Regions from separate parts of the Homo sapiens genome. Here region 2 is linked to region 1. Evidence: promoter capture Hi-C in 16 types of primary human blood cells and fetal thymus (Javierre and others, 2016). All regions are on one chromosome and are shown on one strand. The core of a region is centred on a gene start or on the middle of the fragment in contact, and the rest is flanking DNA. Distances in the headings are between cores, read along the strand shown. Region 1 holds the start of TMEM131 (transmembrane protein 131). Region 2 overlaps INPP4A (inositol polyphosphate-4-phosphatase type I A).

Region 1 (5,924 bases), core at 277-2,776:
CATTTGCACTTTAATACTAATTTGGTTTGTATTTGCTTTCACCTTCAGCAACAATAAAAAGCAAGTGACTTTAGTCATAAAGTAGAATGTTAACTCTAAAATTACCGTGGCAAGAAATTGTTTTCTTGTACAGGCAGTTTCATGTGCAATGCTAAACTAACAAGTTTTGCGTGGTTTGTTTTTTTTTTAAACTATTCACTTAGTCAATTCTTCATGAAGGCTCTGTGACCATTCACATGTCCCTTGGCTCAAAAAGAGGTAGTGTAGATGAAATTACACTGATTTGGTCTTCAAGATTACAAAATAATTTTTGACCCTGTCCAAGTACCCGTTTTGCAGCAGTACAATACTAATGAGATTTTTAAAATAGGGGCCAGCCCTTAACTGTAAATTATAGATAAATGCTTGCAAGCTGGCAACTTCACGTTTATTTTTAAAGGCTTTCACATCAAAGATAAAGGCACCGAATCACGTATTTTAAAATAAGAAATGTAAACAGGCTTTCAACAGCTTACTAAAGAGTTAAATGGAATTGTATTTAGGTCTAATAATAAAGTTATCAATAACGCAGAGACACTAAAGGAGGAAGCTACAGGACCAAGATTTCCCCTCGAAGAAATGTCTGAACAAATTCAAAGTGAAATTTTTTAAGCTGTGTCTCGCTATTTTTACCACATTTTAAAGTAAGCTCTGTCTGCATGCAACCAACCGCAACCAAGAAAACAGAAGTGTCCTAAAATGTACCTATTCGCCGCAATAAAGCCAAAAAATATGCCCCTCCTACCTAGCGGGCCAAGTGGCAAGAACGTACGAGAAGTCAGGAAGTTTTGAAATGGCAGTGACAGGAGACGGGGGAAGGCACGGGAAGGAATCACGGAGAGCGAAGGCCACTCCGTGCGGCGGGCGCCGCGAGGTCCCGGCTCGGGACGGTACCCGACCGCCCAACTTTGCGCCGGAGCCCCGGCCGCGGCCCTTCCTCCCGGCCCAGCCCTCCCGGCCTCCGCGAGAGCGGGGTGACAGCCCCGCCGCAGGGACGCCGCCGGGGGACACCCACCTTCCTTCTCGGCCCGCGCCGCAGCCACTACGAGGGTCATCACCAGGTGCAGCGCGCCTAGGAGGCCGGCGGCCGCGCTCCGCGGGCCCCCGCTACGGGCGGCCGCAGGTTCCAGCCCGGCCCCGGCGGACGTGGAGACGGCGGCGGTGGTGGCTCCGGTTGCTCCTCCTCCCGCCCGCTTCCCCATCCCTGCCGGCCGGGGGCCGCCGCGCTCGAGGTCCGGCGCGGCCCTTCTCGGCGAGGCGGCGGCGGCGCGGAAGCCGTGGTCCGGGCTCTGGCCGCGGCGCCGGGAGCGACAACGGTTGCGAGCCCGGGGCTCGATCTCCGAGCGTGGGCCTGGGTCCGTGCGTGCGTGTGAGCGAGAGTGTCAGTCACGGTCTTTGCCTGGGCATCGCCTACAAGCAGTCGGAGCGGAGAGGCCGCGGGTCAGGCGCGGCGGGCGGCCATACTGGAAACGGGCACGGCCCGCGAGCCCTGAGCGCTGGCCTGCGAGGGGCGGGGCGCGGCTCTGGGCACCGCCCACGCTGTGCCGACACCTGGGCTGTCCGGCGGTCAGTCTGTCCGCCCCGGAGCCCCCTGGGCCCCACCTCCTCGTCCCGCTCTCGGAGGCCTGCGGCTTCACGGCCAGACAGAACCAGGACAGAACAACCCCAGCCCGTTACCGCTACCTGGCGCAGGAGAAGGAGGGAGGCAGGCCCAGGTCCAGCTGCCAGGACTTATGATGGCGGCTTCTGCTTCGCGGAGGCGGTGTCGGCAATCACGTGGAGACGGGGCGGCCTCGCCGCGCAGCCGCCGCGTTGCGTGGGCGGGGCAGGGGCGGAGTTGCGGGGCGCTAACCTCTTCTCCGGCGCCTGGGCAATCCTCCGTGCTCTGTCCTACAGTGGTAGAGCCTTCCAGGGGTGTGAGTGCGCATACAGACCGCGAGACGAGCGCGGAAGGTCCGTTCCAGTGACTCTTCCTGGTGGCACCCCCACCTCTCGACCGCTTTGACGTCGAGAATACCCCGGGCCTGACTCAGTTCTTGATGGTGCTTCCTTGAGGATGGTGGCCCGCTGAACTCATCCTTGGGTCTTCCAAATCATGGTACCCAGGAGGAGCTTGATGGAGTCCTCTTGCCTTGGCTTGTGCCCACATTGGCGCGGAACACCTCGTGTGCAGAAAGCGTCGGTGACTCTGGATGGAGAAGGCAGGGGCAAACAGACTGCTCTTTAGAATATCCAGTAGCCGGCTTCCTCTCTCGAGGAAGAATTCTTTTTTTTCTTTTCTTTATTTTTTAATTATTTATTTATTTTTGAGACAGGGTCTGGTTCTGCCGCCCAGGCTGGAGTGCAGTGGTGCGGTCTGGGACTACAGGCACCCGCCACCACGCCACGCCAATTTTTCTTTTTCTTTTAAGAAACGCTGTCTCACTATGTTGGCCGAGCAGGTCTCGAACTCCTGGGCTCAAGCAGTCCGCCTTCCTCGGCCTTCCAGAGTGCTGGGATCACAGGCGTGAGCCACTGTGCTGGGCCCGGAAAAATTCTTAAGACGTCTGTTACCTTCACGAGCCATCTCGCGCCTCTTAGATGCCCTTTTCATCTTAGGTTGAGCTTCTTGGTGCGCATGGCTGTTGTCTCCAAGACTTAATTTAAGCTCTTGGAGGGGGTCCTTCTTTACTCATCTTAGTAACTTCCTCCCAGCTTGTAGCCCAGAGACATTTTACTTTCCTTAGCTGTATTTGTTGAGTGAGTCGATATATGTGTAAGGCCAAGTCTGCCCACAGTACGTCTCAGAACAAGCTAGATAGGAAAATAAGGTTTCAGAAAGACAAAAGGAACTCCAGAATCTACTCTATGAAGTAGTCCCCTGTGTCAAGCAAGCACTTAAATTTATTCATAAATTAATATATATTTAAATATGACCTTAGCCTAATGATTTTAAAAAGCAATTTTAGGGCAGGGCGCAGTGGCTCACGCCTGTAATCCCAGCACTTTGGTAGGCCAAGGTGGGCGGATCACCTGAGGTCAGGAGTTCGAGACCAGCCTGGCCAACATGGTGAAAACCCGTCTCTACTAAAAAATATAAAAATTAGCCGGGCGTGGTAGTGCATGCCTGTAATCCCAGCTACTCCGGAGGCAGGAAAAACGCTTGAACCCGGCAGGTGGAGGTTGCAGTGAGCCAAGATAGCGCCACTGCACTATACCCTCGACAAGAGCAAAACTCCGTCTCAAAAAATTAATCATAAGCAATTTTACTTTTTTGAATATTAGCCTTAAAATTGAGTAGTCAAATTTTATTTTGATGTAATGAAATAGGAATAATTATCTCTTAAGTTGGCGTTTAAAATGTCTGAGGCAAGAGATTTCTGGAAGGCTTTTGACTCACGGAAGAGATCAAACCCAAGGATATGTAACTGAGCGCTTTTGCTTAGCCTCCAACGTGCTAGCTCTGCAAGTCAGCAGCCCTTCCCCCATGGCCAGATTCAGGACAAACAAGCCTTTCCAACCATGAAGTGCTGAGGTTCTCTTACACAGCAATCAGCCACATCCCCTGGTTAGCCTGAGGCTCAGCAGCTCCATGGGAAATAACTTGCACCTGTCTGTAATTGGATCTTTAGACGTATACAGACATGTTTGATCAGAGTTCGATTTCCCATGCAGCTAATGAAGCTTAAGCCGCAGGGCCCCCTCTCTTGCACAAGTTCCTTCCAAGTCCCTGAACCTAATTGTGTATTTATAAGCCTGTATTCTTGTTCTTAAAGGAGCCCTCCCAATAGTTGGGTAGGCTTTTAAGGCCCACCATACCTGAACCCTCCCCTGTGCCTGAGGGACACTAGGAGCAGGAGGGGTGATGATGGAACTTTCCTCCCAGGAAAGGACAATGAGGCCACTGAGAGTCTAACAGTGAAAGACGTTTTGCTAGACAGCATGGTAAACTGTGTGTTAGAGAGAACCTGGCGTGGAGCCACCATCACCCTATGATCCTCTACCCCCACTCCCCAACCCTCATGTGTCTCAGGAGAGAACCAGGAGTTAAAATTGAAGGAACCATCACACTAAGGACTCTCAAATAGTTCTGATTAGTTGTGAACTTTTCTCTTTTTCCCTTTTGGAAATTGGAGAGACCTGGCCATTTGGCAGGTGGAGGTATTAGCTGGCAGAGTCAGGGAAAACTCGCTAAACCAGTGGTTCTCAAGGTGTCATCCCCAGACCAGCTGTAGCAGCAACACCTGGGAACCTGTTAGAAGTGCAAATTAGCAGGCCAAATCCCAGACCTGTGGAATCAGGAATTCTGGGTTGAGGTCCAACAATCTGTTTAAACAAGGCATCCAAGTGATTCTGATACAGGCTCAAGATTGAAGACTGTTGCACAGTGATATATGCCAGGAGCTACAAGCTGTTGGGACTCCTCACTTTCTGTTCATTTTGCTCTCTATGCAGGTTAGTAATTTACCATTCAAGGCAGAATTATAAGAGACTCAGACAAATTTGAACTTAAATCCCATCCCTGCCTTTACTAGCTATATGATGCTGAGCAAATGACTTTTCTGGCCTCAGATTCCTAATCTGTAAAAATGGGGATTATGATATAAATTTGGGGAGATTAAGCATATAGGTTTGTGAAGCATATAGACTAGTGTCTGGGACATAGGAGACTGTCAAAAGTAGCTATTAGTGAGCACTCACTCTTTTCAAAACACCACATTAGGCACGAAGATCCTTGATCCATTGATACCTCCACTTCATTCCACAAAATACTTAAGGAGGTGTGCAAGAATGCCTTCTATGAATTAAAACTGGAACTAGGAGGGAGTAAACTGTTGGGCTTTCCAGGGTTCTATCTCCTTTGCTGCATAGGTGAATGCACCTGGTATCCTGCCGTTCAACACCATCTATACACTTTCAGGTCCCCACTTCATGTCACCAGCCAGACCTCGCTGTCTCTATTGCTGTTCCCACTCAGGTGTATAATGAGGTGTCTTAAACTCACATGAACTCCACATCTTCCCATGCAAACATGCTTCACCCACAGCCTTTCCTATCTCCAGGGCAACTCCAACCATCCAGTTGCACAGGCCAAAAACCTGGGAGTCATTCTTTACTCTCTCCACATGTACCCAAATCTAACTGCTTCTCACCACCTGCACTACTCCACTCTGGTATGAGCCCTGTCATCCGCTGCCTGGATTTCTGCAAGAGCTTCCTAACAGGTTTCCCTGTTTCCACCTGTAAAAGAAAATTTTCCACTTACAACACTTGCATAGTAGATATCAAAACGGAATGCTATGCTCTACCACAACTGGTTCTAACCAACTGAAGCAGATCAAGGACTGTGAACTTTGAGTGACCCCATACCAGACCCTTGTTAGACCTAACCAAAGACTCCTTTCTGACCAGTTAACAAAGGGACATGTTTTATCAACACTATTCCAACCTATCCAGAGCACTACTTTCCAGCCCTTAATCCGCATAACCTCCAAACTCCCTTCTCTCTTTCTCACACTTAAAAAACCCTGACTTTTCCTAATTCATGAGTTACTCAGTGAACTTTTTCACTGGTGTGTTTACATCCACCCCTGGCAGTATATAAACTCATCTTTGATTTTTTTTTTTTTTTTGAGTTTTGTTGGGCTTTGCTTTATATTTTGACATAAATTTGTACTTTTATAGTCTATTGTCAACCTGACAGCCAGCATGATCCATTTAAAACATAAGACATGTCACGTCTCTCAATGTTCACATCCTGCAGTGGCCTGCTTAATGTTTTTAAAAGCAGTTGGGGAAAGTGAAATTTTAATTTTTAGAGACTGTATATTAAAAAAAGCAATAACAGGGAATATTTGAATACCCATCTCAGGGTAAAAGCTTCCTTGATCTGGCTTGCCCCGGTC
Region 2 (5,684 bases), core at 3,082-5,581, 510 kb after region 1:
AAAACAGCTTGCACACTCTTCCCTTACCAAATTAGGATTGAGTAAAACCTGTTGGTAATAGTAAATAGAAGGAAGTTACAAATAAAACACAGTAGTCATAAAAGCAGAGCAGAGGAGCCCTGCTCACAGAGCCAGCCGTCACCACAGACGCCTGGGCTTGAGTTGTGTCTTGCTGATTCAGCAGGAGGGTGCATTTCCCCTTCCACTTTCCTGTTGAAATATATTATTTCTGTACAATATTTATAGAATCCCTGTCTCCACCATTAGAAATACAGAATATTCTTGCTTTTTCACTTTGCTATTAGTTGATATTGTTGGCTAGGTTTTGTCTGTTTATCCTGTTCACAAATTTTTGTTTTTTAAACTTTATTTTTTAACTATTTTTGACAGAAACAATAACAATATTTCTTCGAGGGGTTTAATTTCAGCTTAATTTAAGAAAAGAAAATCAAACATGAATGATACAAAAAAGAATCTGCTCTCATCCTAAAGTTCTGCCTTTTGCTTCTCTAGGAAGCCCTGTTTCCTGACTAGAATTTAGTGTTGCTTGATGGGAAAAGCTGGAGATGGAGTCAGAGACTGAGTAACCACAGGAGATGCTTATGAAGACATGGGTGGGGACAGGGCGGGACATAATGAGGAACTCTACAACTGAAAAAGATGATGCCTTTTATTAGCATTTGGTAGTAGTCGAATTAATGTGCTCTGCACTCTCTTCTGCATATCGGAAAGAGCACTGGACTAGTAAGGCCTGCCTTTAGGTCCTACTTCTGCTGCTGCTGCTGACCTTGAGGGAGCCCCTCTACCATTGTGAGCCTGGCTCCCAGGCATCAAACTAGAATAGCTGTCTCTCCCAGCCCAGCGGTGTGGTGTGAGGACCAGGCGAGTCAAAACATGTGGGCAGCATTTGCAAGCTGTGTTGTTGTTGCTCACACTTATATTTCTTCCCCCTTGAGATTTTTTACCTACAGAGACCTCTAGACAAGGTGTTTCCTCCCATGGAGACCAGATGAGGCAGGTGAGCGGGCAGAAGGCACCTTGGCCTGAGAAGTTCTTGGTCTCCTCCTCTCTTGACCCTCTTCTGTGGATTGGAAACATTGTGAGAAACTACGTCCCTTGCTTGCATTGGCAGCAGACACTGTTGAAGTCCTGGGAGAACACGATGCTGTGAACAGACCGAGGGGAGGAATGGTGGCTGCTCCTCACAAGAGGAAGGGGTCCTGGGCACATTTGGACTTTGCCTCCTGGAGTGGCCCACAATGCGGGCACTCCCCTGTGGCAGGGAGGGGGAGTCAAGGAAAGGAACTCAGCATTTTCAGGGCTGCATTTTCACACAGCAAGCCCTAAAGCTGCGTTTGTTTCCTGAAACAATCTTGATTTCATTCAGAGGAGGAAAACGACATTTTGGAGAGTCTGCGGTCTGGGGTGCTTTGATCCTCGTTCACAGTCCAGGGAGGTGTAGCCACATCCCCCTCCTCTGCCCTGCTTGGCAACTCACTTTTTTGTGGAATGGTGGCCGCTGGCCACTGCTGTTTTGACCAAATAGCTGGGTGGACCCTGAAGGGGCCATTCTGGCCATTTCTGGCCTCAGGCTGGGTGACGGTAGAGGATGTAGTGTCAAGGTTATGCGTGACTGATCCTTTCTGTAAAACAGCCCATCCCATCCCTCACATTAAAGGAATATAAACCCGAGTTCATTTGTGTTGGGGTTTGCTTGTGTTAATTTATAGATCACTTTTTTTCTAATTGTTTAAATGTTCTAAACAAAAGAGTTTATGACTAATTATGTGTTTATGTTGTGTGTCTGATACAATGTAAAGCCATCTAGTTAACATGAGAGTTATTTGACCATTCTGTTTAAAGTTTAAGAAACACGTGCTGTAGGGAAATCTCCATTTGGTTACTGAAAGTTGTGATGGATTGAAGGGGTGGTGGTGCTCCACTGCTTTGTGGGAGCTTTCTCCCACCCAAGCTCATGGGTAGTGTTGAAGCCCCCATGCTACAACGTGACCCCCACCCCCAGCCTGGGGGGCCTGGCTCAAGCTGGAGAGAACTGGGAGAGCACCCATGCAGGCGGCCTCTGGTGGCTGGAGCTGGAGAGTTTCAAGTTGGGGGCTGTCTCAGCTCCCACCATGTGGACTGGCTCATTTGCAGAGTGGGAGGATGATGGACATGGGTAAGCAGAGGGGAAGGGCCACATTTGCTGCCAGCCTTGGAGTCAATGGGCCAGCTCAGCCATGTTCCTGCTGAGGTGTTTAGCTCAGCCCAGACTCCTGAGACAAATACGCCTTTCTGCCTAAGCTCACCCCCCTGCACAGCGTCCTGGCTGCTCTATATAGTGTCTTAGCCAGGCTAGCAGGAGTTCCCATGACTGTCCTTACCATGATGGCATCGTCACTGCATCCCCTGGGTTGAGGGGGTGGGTGGTGAGGGCATGGGGTGAATGCAAAACACTGTACGGCAAGGCAAAGGACATTGCTGTGGCTGGGATGTGGGCCGCCCACTTTGCATTCTGTCCTGAGAAGCCATGAGCAGCTGCAGCCACACCTCTCCTGAAAGGGAAGAAGGAGAGAAGCAGAGCTCGGGTTAGAGGCTGTTCTAGTGGCTGGGGCAAGTCAGGGTCCAGCTTCCAGGTGGCCAGCTCTGGGCAAGGGAAGCAGGAGCAGGCACCAGGCCAGGCCTGACAGCTTTGTGTTTGGGTGGAAGAAGAAAAGGGAAGAGAAATCACCATCTTTGGCAATGAATAAGGCACACCCAGCCTGCTTTGGGGTTTAGAGCCTCCTGCACTCCCGCCTCCACCATAGAGGAGCCAGACTGGGTTCATGCTCCACAGTCTTCCAGCTGCGTCTCCTGGAATGAACCTTTGAGTAACAACTCTGAGTGAGTGATGATACCCCCCTTATTGTGGACCCACACTCAGAGATAAGCCCAACTCACAGGTCACGGGGAAGCCCGTGTCCTTATCTCTTCAGTTCCCGGCCCTCTTGGAGCAGCATGTCTCCTTTGATGAGGGGGTTGAAATACTGGATGCTTTCCTCGGTCCTTTCATACACTTATTCAGAAATTTATGTGACACGCTGGAAGGACTTCCTGGACAACAGACGGGCAAACTTTCAGTTAATTGTGTGAGGGCTTCAAGTGGTTTCAAGTGACAATGGAGTAAGAAATGAGACTTGTCAAAGTCCTTGCCTGTTGTAGGAGAGAGAACCGCGCTGCTCCTGGTGCACGCTGACTGCAGTCCTAACCACGCAGCTCTGACAGCAGACCGCCATGTACAGTGTTCCTGTTGTCTTTGTCTGTGGTATTGTGAAATTGATGTGGTAATCAAATGACGAATGAGGCCTGGTGCGCGGGAGTGAGAGGGGTCATGTATGGGAACACTGGGTTGATTCACCTCAAGAAAAAGCCCCAGAATCCCTGGCTGCAGAACCCAGGGGTGCCGCTGCCTGGAAAGGACAGAGTAGCAAGCCAGCCCCTCACCCAAGGGAAGGCTTCAGAAGAGGCTTGGCCCCCACCATTGTGGGCCTCAGGTTGTCTACCATTCATCTTTGTTACACTTTGTGATGTAGCTCTGGACCAAGCCTCTTATCATCTTTGTATCCCTAAGGCCTGCTCCATAATAGACCCTCAACTGTTTGTTAAAGCAGGAGTCCACAGTCCCCGGGCTGCAGACCAGTACTGGCCTGTGGCCTGTTAGGAACTGGGCTGCACAGCAGGAGGCGAGTGGCAGGCATTACTGCCTGAGCTCCACTTCTTGTCAATCAGCGGTGGCATTAGATTCTCGTAGGAGCACAAACCCTGTTGTGAACTGCGTATGTGAGGGATCTGGGTTGCGTGCTCCTTATGAGAATCTAACTAATGCCTGATGATCTGAGGTGGAACAGTTTCGTCGCGAAACCACTCCCCTTGACCAGCCCCCCAAAATTGTCTTCCACAAAACCAGTCCCTGGTGTCAATAAGGTTGGGGACTGCTGTGTTAAAGAGATTGCCAGTTTACAGAGAAGAAACAGCATGAGGTGCAGAAGCAAGAAATTGGAGGTGCTGAAGAAAGAGTGGCTGAAGTGTGTGGTGTGGAAGGCAGTCGGCAGATCCCCGCCCACCCCAGGCTGCTCCTGGCACCTCCCAGACATTGCGCTTGTGATTATTGACACATCTCACTCATCTCCCAGATTGTGAGCACCTGTTTTGCTCAGCACAAACATTTTAAAGCACTTTTTTCAGGGCAACTTATTTTCAAACTGCTTCTTACAGAAAATCCCCTGAACGTTCATGGTATATGGGTGAACCACAAGGAGCTGAGCTGCAGTTGTAAACTGGGCTGTCCCAAAGAACTCCAGGAGAAGCTGGGAACCAAGAAGGACATAAAAGAAGTGAGGGAATTGCCTGCCTTGTTATCTGAGGAAGGGCAGTCCCAGAGAGGGTGGCTGATGCAAAGGCCACACCAGATAAAAGTCTAAACAGCAAAGAGGCCAGGGCAGGAGCAGGATGAAGACACTGCTAGGAGGTTCACAGGCCCCGTCATTGCAGTTGGACACAGACTGTGAGGACTGTGGGAGGGACGCTGGTCAAATTCCCAGGGTATGGGAGTTGGGGTACTAAGGGAGTTGAAGTCGTACTTGTGGGGAAGATAGAGCTAATAGAGTTGTCAATGGATTGGATGTGGGATGTGAGAGGAGGAGGAGGCCAGGATGTTATTTCTTGCCTGGAGCAAGTGGAAGGACAGAACTCCATCTACTGAGATGGGAAACCTTGAGGGGCTGGTGAGGTGAAAGAGGAAGGCTGGAACGGTCTGGGCTTGTTCTGCTCCTGGAGCATCCTCCTCTGCCCTCTTGTTTACAGGGATATCCATGTCCCTATCCAAGGTATCTCAGTCAGTTCAGGCTGCTATAACAAAATAACTGAGACTGGTAAACAGCAGAAATGTACTTCTTAGACCTGTGGATGTTGGGAAGGCGCTGGCATTTAGGGTCTGCTGAGGGCCTTCTTGCCATGTCCTCACATGACAAAAGGTGAAGGGCAAAAAGGGCCTACCTAGTTCCCTCCAGCCCTTTCATACAGCACTAATCCCACCTATGAGGCCAGAGCCCTCAGGGTCTAATCACCTCCCAAAGGCCCCGCTTCTTAATACTATCACATTGATGGCTACATTTCAACATAAGGAATTCTGGGGGACACATTCAGACTGTAGCACAGTGACTGACTCCCTCCATTGGAGTCTGGGATGTGCATTTGTATTCTGGTTCAGGCCCTGTATTATAGTAGTAAGCATATTTATTAAACTAATGAGGCATGTCAGTTAAGTAAATGAAGTTAACTCATTGCCATTGCTGCCTGTCCATCATCACTGGCAGACAGTAGGGCTTGGGAAATGGAAAGCCAGAGATAAATGAACATCTCCCAGTGAGCACAAGCTCGGGGGCCCTAAGTCAGGTCATTTGTGTCTGCAGGTGAGAAGGGATACGCATTGCCAGCATGTTACTTCTCTTCCTGTGCTTGATTCAATTTTTTTTTTTTTGAGATGGAGTCTCGCTTTGTTGCCCAGGCTGGAGTGCAGTAGTGCGATCTGGGCTCACTGCAACCTCCACCTCCCGGGTTAAAGCGATTCTTCTGCCTCAGCCTCCCAAGTAGCTGGGACTACAGGCACGTGCCACCACGCCCAGCTAATTTTTTGTATTTTTAGTAGA

The links. Contacts are between HindIII fragments. The CHiCAGO score rates a contact against its expected background, and 5 or more counts as called.
Region 2: a contact is called between a fragment that was not itself captured here and the fragment with the promoter of TMEM131 in region 1, in 1 of 17 cell types (neutrophils). The highest score is 6.1, in neutrophils.

What each region holds. Positions count from the first base shown.
Region 1 is chr2:97,994,422-98,000,345 of GRCh38, forward strand. TMEM131 (transmembrane protein 131) reads right to left here and starts at 1,527. Exons shown (of 41, transcript NM_015348.2): 1 at 1,055-1,527. The coding sequence starts at 1,241. LOC124905591 (a long non-coding RNA gene) reads left to right here and starts at 3,222. Exons shown (of 2, transcript XR_007087148.1): 1 at 3,222-4,473. RefSeq lists silencers at 817-1,376, 1,487-1,736 and enhancers at 1,273-1,786, 1,957-2,236. The HindIII fragment of the contact is 7,821 bases long and covers 1-3,700 here.
Region 2 is chr2:98,505,563-98,511,246 of GRCh38, forward strand. All of the region lies in intron 1 of INPP4A (inositol polyphosphate-4-phosphatase type I A), which reads left to right. Among named protein-coding and RNA genes, the nearest start is that of INPP4A, 64 kb to the left of the region's middle. RefSeq lists enhancers at 2,240-2,299, 2,760-2,819. The HindIII fragment of the contact is 9,429 bases long and covers 1-5,684 here.